Regions from separate parts of the Homo sapiens genome. Here region 1 is linked to region 2. The links are contacts of gene promoters, found by promoter capture Hi-C in human tissues and cell types (Jung and others, 2019). All regions are on one chromosome and are shown on one strand. The core of a region is centred on a gene start or on the middle of the fragment in contact, and the rest is flanking DNA. Distances in the headings are between cores, read along the strand shown. Region 1 holds the start of HLTF (helicase like transcription factor). Region 2 has its middle 7.6 kb from the start of TM4SF4.

Evidence for each region. The method cuts DNA at HindIII sites, captures the fragments that hold promoters and counts their contacts. A contact is called where the count stands out against the background at its distance.
Region 1: the fragment with the promoter of HLTF here is called in contact with a fragment that was not itself captured in region 2 in 2 of the 25 tissues and cell types used here (H1 embryonic stem cells and mesendoderm cells).

What each region holds. Positions count from the first base shown.
Region 1 is chr3:149,085,002-149,089,062 of GRCh38, reverse strand. HLTF (helicase like transcription factor) reads left to right here and starts at 2,530. Exons shown (of 25, transcript NM_003071.4): 1 at 2,530-2,746. The coding sequence starts at 2,727. It overlaps HLTF-AS1 (HLTF antisense RNA 1), which reads right to left and starts at 2,731. Exons shown (of 3, transcript NR_046648.1): 1 at 2,585-2,731. RefSeq lists enhancers at 2,168-2,685, 2,571-2,780, 2,686-3,203. The HindIII fragment of the contact is 14,534 bases long and covers 1-4,061 here.
Region 2 is chr3:149,465,168-149,469,106 of GRCh38, reverse strand. No RefSeq gene overlaps it. Among named protein-coding and RNA genes, the nearest start is that of TM4SF4, 7.6 kb to the left of the region's middle. The HindIII fragment of the contact is 4,376 bases long and covers 1-3,939 here.

The sequences.
Region 1 (4,061 bases), core at 1,281-3,780, 380 kb after region 2:
CAAGAAAAAACCAAAAAAGTTAATTTTTCAGAAAACATTATTTAGTATAATAGTTTTGAAATTGTAATTGCTGTAACATTTTAATCAAACTAGTACAAATTGTACTTGATCTTTAAATATAAAACAAAGAATGATTAAGGGAAAGAATGTTTTACTCCTGGTTCTGGGATGTGAAATATTGATAACATAGAGAAAACATACTGTGGGAGGAAGAGCCACATATGCCATTCTTGGATTTCAGGCTCACTGAATCAAACAGGGGAGTGACATGACATGATTAATTTGCATAAAGGTTCTGTGTGTGTGTGTGTGTGTGTGTGTGTGTGCGCGCGCGCGGGCATGTGTGTGTGTGTGGCTGGGGGTGCAGATGAGAAGTGTGTTTGTGACTGGGAAGTGGCTGGATGGAGAAATTTTGGATTCCTTTCCTTTCCATACCATTCCTTTAAATAGCAAATTTTAGTTCATTCAAAGCACATTCTTTAACCATGGGACAGTCATTATTCATAGATCTTAAGTCTTTTTATTTTTTTGAGATGGAGTCTCGCTCTGTTGCTCAGGCTGGAGTGCAGTGGCTTGATCTCGGCTCACTGCAACCCATGTCTCCCTGGTTCAAGCGATTCTCCTGCCTCAGCCTCCCAAGTAGCTAGGACTACAGGTGCGTGCCACCACGTCTGCTTAATTTTTGTATTTTCTTAGTAGAGTCAGGCTTTCACCATGTTGGCCAGGCTGGTCTCGAACTCCTGACCTCAGGTGATCCACCCAACTCGGCCTCCCAAAGTGCTGGGATTATAGGTGTGAGCCATTGCGCCTGGCCAGTCTTAAGTCTGAAAGAGCTATGTTCTCATATTTGGAATTTTTTCTTTGTCTAGTGAGCATGACTTTCTTACTCTTACAAAACATCAATTTGAGCAATTTCTGGCATATTTTCCAAGAATTTATTTAAAATCTGGCATACTAAAAGCTGAACTGTATTGCCATTTGCCTCAACACACTTCAAGAAGAACATACAACAATTAAAATAATTTGAAATGCCATTGTCTTTATCTTCCTCATCAACTTTGGTCAAATGAAATAATACATTGTTTCAAATTCTATTGCTCATCCATGGTTCATGATTAGAGATCACTACAGTTTATTTACGATAATGAACAAATGTGTCTTGAAAAGCTGACTACCGGCCTGGCACGGTGGCTCATGCCTGTAATCCCAGCACTCTGGGAGGCCGAGGCGGGCGGATCACCTGAGGTCAGGAGTTCAAGACCAGCCTGGCCAATATGGTGAAACCCCGTCTCTACTAAAAATACAAAAATTAGCTGGGCGTGGTGGCGGGCTCCTGCAATCCCGGCTACTCCGGAGGCTGAGGCAGGAGAATCGCTTGAATCCGGGAGGCGGAGGTTGCAGTGAGCCAAGATCACCCCCATTGCACTCCAGCCTGGGGGACAGAGCAAGACTCCATCTCAATAAAAAAGAAAAAAAAACAAAAAAAAGAAAAAAGAAAAGCTGACCACCTAATATTATTGTGCTGACAGGCGTGTAACATGGACCTCTCTGTGACGCGCAAGTATTATCTGGCAGTTACATGGTGCCGCCTGTGCAGCTGGGCGCCACCACCAGCTTCCTGCCCTGTGCGATTAAAAGGCCAGCTTCGGGGACAGCAGCCTCCTCAACGCAAAGCGACCAGCCCTGCCAGGCGTCGGCTGCAGCTGGTCCAAGGTTGACGGTCCCAGGGCCGCATTCTCCTTCCGGTCACCTCAGACTCTGGAAAGAGAGCCATGGAGGGCCTCAGAGCGCCCCTCTGCAGTTCCTTGAGGAAAACAAGGGCCTCCCCCTCTTGGCTGGAGCAGCCAAGTGCCCACGGGGAAAATGGTCCCGTCCACCATTTCAGGCAAACGCCCCCATAGCTGTAATAAACATGTGATGGGTTTCCTGCACCAAGAAAGGAAAATTTTCCTTAAAAATAACAAAAAGAGGTGGGGAGGGGACTCTAAGTTCCATTTAAGATTTTCCAAACTCGTTGTGTCTCATGCATACGCTGAGGCTTAACATGAAAATTTGGAGCGAAAGTCCCCACGGTTCACCACAGGGAATGAAGTAAAGTATCTCGCCGGTAGCTCTAGGTCTCGTAAACCGTGGAGCTCCTTTAGTATAAGGCCCTATTATGTGCCACATTAGATGAGAAGAAAATAAGAGGAAGGATACGGTAGAGCCTTTAGAATGGGGTTCAGTCTTAGGACTCGTAGGATAAAGGAAGGTCGTTTCCCTCCGTTTGAGGCAGGGAATCAAACAAAACACCGGCACCGCAGGCACCGCAGTCGCACTCCTGGGGCCTCGTGGCTTTCCCGCGCGCCCGCCTTGGGGGCGGGGAAGAACCCGGATGGAACCACCCTTGCAGCCCGGACCCCCCGCCGTCTTTGAATGGCAGCGGGGCGGAGTTGCCCTCCCTTCTGTGCTCTGACTGGTTTGGCTCCGCACTCTCCTCTTCGTGATTGGGCTTTCCTAGTGCCAGTCACAGAGCGACGCTGGTCTCCCAGATTGTTGCAGAAGGAGACGGCGTCGACGTCTGACTGGACTCGCGGCGACTTACCTTTCAGTCGTGCGCTCCTGATCCGGCGCTCGGAATTTGTCCCCGGCTTCAGGGCTGCGGGGCCTGGAAGGAGGCGTATCGAGGCGGCTCGAAAACGATCCAGGGGAGCCGAGGCGCTCCTCTTGTCATCCCACTCAGCGCCATGTCCTGGATGTTCAAGAGGTGAAGGGGGCGGAGGGGGTGGGGCGCTCGGTCTAACGGCCTGGAGGCGTCCCCAAATGAACCTGACCTTCCCCGCGTTCCTCTGCGTTCCCTGGGCGATTTGTGCAGCTGTATTCGTTCTGTTGGTCGCATATGTGGCCGCCGGAGAAATAAATGCATTGTCTTCGCTGGCGAGTAGGGGCTCCTAGGGCGAGTCCCGTGTTAGGGACTTGGGAAATCTCTGTCACCGACTGTGGGGGGCCTGGGGCTTAAAGCATCTCGGCCAGTGCTTTATTTAACAAAACATCCATTAGATACCCACTGTGCGCCAGGCATTGTGCTCGGTGGAGGGCCGAGTAAGACAGTCCTTGTCCCCAAGTGGCTCACAGCTTATCTGTATGCACAGACGTGCAGATAAGTATTTGCAGAGGCGCTAGTAGAGATATGCGCCACTTGCAAGGAAAACGCATCGCAAATAAGCGACTGTTCTTAGGAGAATGGAAACTTTTTGCAATGCTCCAGTAGACTCCCCTTCACTTTTCATTGTCCAAATTGGTATTTATGGTCATTCCCGAAACAGTTACACCTAATGGGTTTGGGGTTATGCTTAAACCGGCGACGGAAGGCGGGTACGGGTGGCTTGGGGCCAATTTCCCACGGTGGCGTGGTTTGGATACCAGAATAGGTGTTCTGCTCGCAGGGAGTTACAGTGATGGATGCTGGATGTATTTTCTGGAAAATTATAAACAACTTCTGGTACATTAATAGTTGTATTTTTATAAGTCTTTTATATAGCTCAATCCCTATTGAAATTTTGGCATATGATTTCATTTTTTAAATTATTTTTTTGACATGGAGTCTCGCTCTGTCGTCCAGGCTGGAGTGCAGTGGCACAATCTCGGCTCGCTGCAACCTACGCCTCCCGGGTTCAAGTGATTCTCCTGCCTCAGCCTCCCGAGTAGCTGGGATTACATATGGGCGCCACCACGCCTGGCTAATTTTTGTATTTGTAGTAGACAGGGTTTCACAATGTTGGCCAGGTTGGTCTCAAATTCCTGACCTCAGGTGATCCACCTGCCTCTGCCTCCCAAAGTGCTGGGATTCCAGGCGTGAGCCACCGCATCCGGCCCATAATTGTAGTTACAGACATCATATACATATCAATTTAGATGATTTTCACTGGGAAAGAGGTTAGTGAACTCTGACTAGGCTTTTCATTTTGAATACCTAGGGGGCAGGTAGAAGAGCCAATATTGAAAACAGGTAGAGTTCCTAGAAGCCTTCTCCACTCACTGCAATTCCTGCTTTAACGAGAGTAACTATTAATCTTTACCGT
Region 2 (3,939 bases), core at 883-3,382:
AGCTTTAATTCACCACAGAGATAAAGGTAGATTTAAACCAAAGGAGTCTGATTATAGAGACCATCCTCTTAATCACCACAATATCCTGCTTCAGAAACCAAAGACTGGTACCTATTGTTTGCTCAACACAGAGAGGACAGCCTGCATGCATTTAGGTTTAAATCAAGGGCCTTTCTCTGCTACAGGGTAAATTATCTGGATAATTCCCACAATTGTGTATGGGTAGACACAGCCTGAGTTAGGATTTGCACTTGAGGAGCTAGCAGGCACCATCTACACCTTAAAAGTATCTCCAGTTGTTTTCAAAATTAGAATGAGAAATGCAAATCTCTTCCTGCCTCATGACTCAAAGGGGTGCTATATAGTCCTCTCTAATGCAGGTCTCAGTACAAAAGGGCACAGCTGTGACCTCTCAGAGAGGCATGAGCTCTGGCTGGTAAATCTGTCCCAGATGACCTGCCCAAATATTGATTTGTTTTAGCATTCTTTGATATCATCATGGTTATAGGTGAGAAGTTAACTTTCAACAGGAACTCACCCCTCACCCACTCTCCGTAAGGTAAAACATCACTAACTGCGGTTCCTCATCTTCTTTTTAAAATTAAACATGGGTTCAAAAAGAAACCAAGTTTAAAAATTCATGTTATGGCTTTAAAATGCAGAGAAATTTTAACACTGCATGTGTTTTTAATTTCTATAAATCTGACTTTATATAATTATGTATTATTCTTTTTGTCTGTGCCTTTGTACAAGTGTTTCCCCATTAGTTTTTAAAAATTATTTTTCCAAATAATTTTTGCTTATAAAAATTTACAAACATATTGGGAAATGATAACAACACCAAGACAGCAAGCACAATTTGGAAAAAAAAAAAAACATCAAAAACAACTGTCTTAAAATTTCATGTCAGTGAACTTTCATGGGGGTCAATTTTAGCTTTTGTATATTTATTCTTTTAGCACATTTTTTGAGCACTGATGTGTCAGGTACTGGAGACGTGTTAAATGGACAGAGCTTATAAGAAAAGGAAGATAGATATTAATAATGCTAATAACAGAAAACAGAGCAATTGTATGAAGTTGGTTCTATTTTAATCTGAATTTTACTCATAAGGAAACTGTATCCCAGAGAGATTAAGTAACTTTCCCAAGATCTCATCACTAGTAGCAGGAGACAGGATTTGATCTCAAGCAATCTAGTTTAAAAAAAAAAAGTCTGTGCTCTTAACCTCTACGCATGTTGCCTTTCATTAATCAAACCGTCTCAAAAACATATAATAACAAACTATAATTTGTTCCATGGACTAGAGAGAGCTATGAAAGCATATAGGGTAACAGGGGGATTCCAGTCAGGATAGGGAAGGCTCCCCTGAATAGGCTCCTTTGAAACTATTCATTGCCAAGAATAGAATTTTGATAAAATTACATTATGTAGTAATATTTACTGTAAGCTTGTTACATGCTAGGTATAACTTTAATGCTTTTCAATATTAACTCACAATGTCCCTCTGAGATGGGTGATAGTAACCCAGTAACCTCCCTCTTTGCTATATGGAAGGAAGTTGAGGCTCAGGGGGTAAAGAGTTTGCTCAAAACCACACAGCTAGAAAGCAAGTCAGCACTTGAACCCAAGCCCACACTCTTTAGACTGAGTGCGTGTCTTATGAAAGAAAAGAGCAATGCCAACGAGTTGGAAGGGACATGTTGTCCCACTGCTCAAAGATGCTCTCACTGACTCTAACTATGGATTTCTAGTTGCCAAAGGACTGAGCAAAGAGAGCAAAAATTATGGATAAGACCAAATTCTAAGGCGGTAAAAACATTAAAACTAAGTTTTAAAAGGAAGTAACTCAGTGTAGTAATTGGTAGGATGTGTGACTGCTCTAAGTGCACCTGAGCTACCCTGCCACTGACAGTGGTGGAGAGTCCAGAAGCAAGGTCAAATGATAAACTCCCTTGCTTAAAATTGAATAATCAGTTCCAATTCACAGAATGTCAAAGTTAGATAAACCTTTTCCCTTTTATAGGTTTTCAAGACTGAACTGCAATTGCAAAAATAATTCCTACTTGCAATAACTACTGTGATTAAACCTAAAGGGTAGAGAAATGCATCCAGGTCTTTGGTGGTCTTCACAGTGTGAGGCACAATGTAGAGGCCCAATTTATTTTTAAATTGACATTAGCTTTTCTGTGATTACCCATATGTATATCAAAGCTTCTAGCAAAGTTACAGACCAAGGCTTCTCAAATTTTAATGTGCATGTAAATCATCTGCAATCTTGTTAAAATACAGATTCTGATTTAGAAAGTCTGGGACAGGGCCTTAGATTTTGAATTTCTAACAAGCTTCAGGTGATTCTGGCAGTCGGAGGGCCATACATTGAGGCTGGACACATTTATTACTCTGCTTACTTTGGGGCAAATGGATGCCCTTCCTTAGACTTCCCACTGGAGCAGCTCATTGTGGGGTGTTTCAAGTAGTTGCTACTTGCTCTAACAAACTTTTGTTCTTGGGACAGTCACTTGCCAGCTTAGGGATTTCAGAAGGCTCTAGGGTCGGAAGAGACCCCACATCACTCTAGCTTGCTGTTTTCTGCATGCTTTATGGTGGTGGTTGTCAAAGTATGAATCGGTTAAAAGCTTGGGCTGCCTTTCTTTAGATGGGCCTGCTTCTCAACAGTCATCTTCCCCTCTTACTCACTCCCTACTGCATTCCGCAACTGTTATTCCAACCCTTTTCCACATTCCTCAAACCCTCCCTCCTCCCTCGCCCCAACTCCTTTGAGAGTTATAACCTCTCCTCCCACTTGCAGAAATGAAGGCCCAAGTTCCTTCATCCATCTTCCTTTCAGCCTTATAATATTTTTATATGAACACTTTCCTCTTTCATCCACATTTTATTCTTATCTTCATCCATTTTTATTATCTTTCCCCTGTCAGCAGATTAATTCCCTCACTGGTGCTTTTGTTCCCATCTCTAAACCTTCCCTGAGACTGTACCACCAATTATCATTATTCTGTCTTAAAGATTTAGTATCCTCTCTTACCTATCTCTTCATTCTCTTCACACAGTCTCAGTTCTCACTTTGCCTTTCCTAAATTTTTATTAAAGAAGTTAAAAAATACCCACTAGGTATAGAGAATTGTATAATGAACTCCCATTTACCCATCAAACAACCAGAAATAATCAAATTTTTCCATTTTTGAATTCTGTCTTGGAAACATCTTCCCTTGACCCTGCTCCTTTCTCCTCTTGACCAAGCCTGTCTCTCCAGTTCCCAGCCCCCTCTGATTTGTTAACCTCTTGCCATCTGGTTCCTGTCCCAGTCTCACTATGGCAAGTTCATCAGTGCCATTACCCGTTACTGAACCCCGTGGCCATGTCTCAGGCTTCATTCTCCTTTGACCTCCTTGCAGCGTTCCACTATTTCTGAGTCTCTTCCCACTGAGCAGCTGGAAGCACACTGGCTATCTGCGGAAGGACTTTGGAAGCCAGCACTCTGAAGCTTGTTCCCTCTCCTCCTCCCTTCTTCCCGGGACTTTCAGGGCTGTATCTGTTTTTCAAACTTATCACCATGTCAGAACCTCTAATCTTACCTCTGGGCCAGAAATGGAGATGGGACACTCCTTAAAAACGGTGACAGTATCTTATAGAAAGGTAAAGTCCTTAACTGTACCTAGCACGGTGCCTCCACTTAATCAAGGCACCATAAAATACGCGCTGATAATAGTGATGATGACGATAATGACTGCCACCGACATACAACTGTTAAACCAGACTATGGAAAATACAAGACAGGGGAGTGAGCTGGAAGTCACCCTGCCTGCCCACTTCCACACTGCACGGGCGGACCCTCAAGCACTGGAAGAGAAGTTCCGGGGCTGGGCTGGCCTGGCAGTAGGCGGCGGAATGGAGACACGGACCCAGGACCGGGCCTGA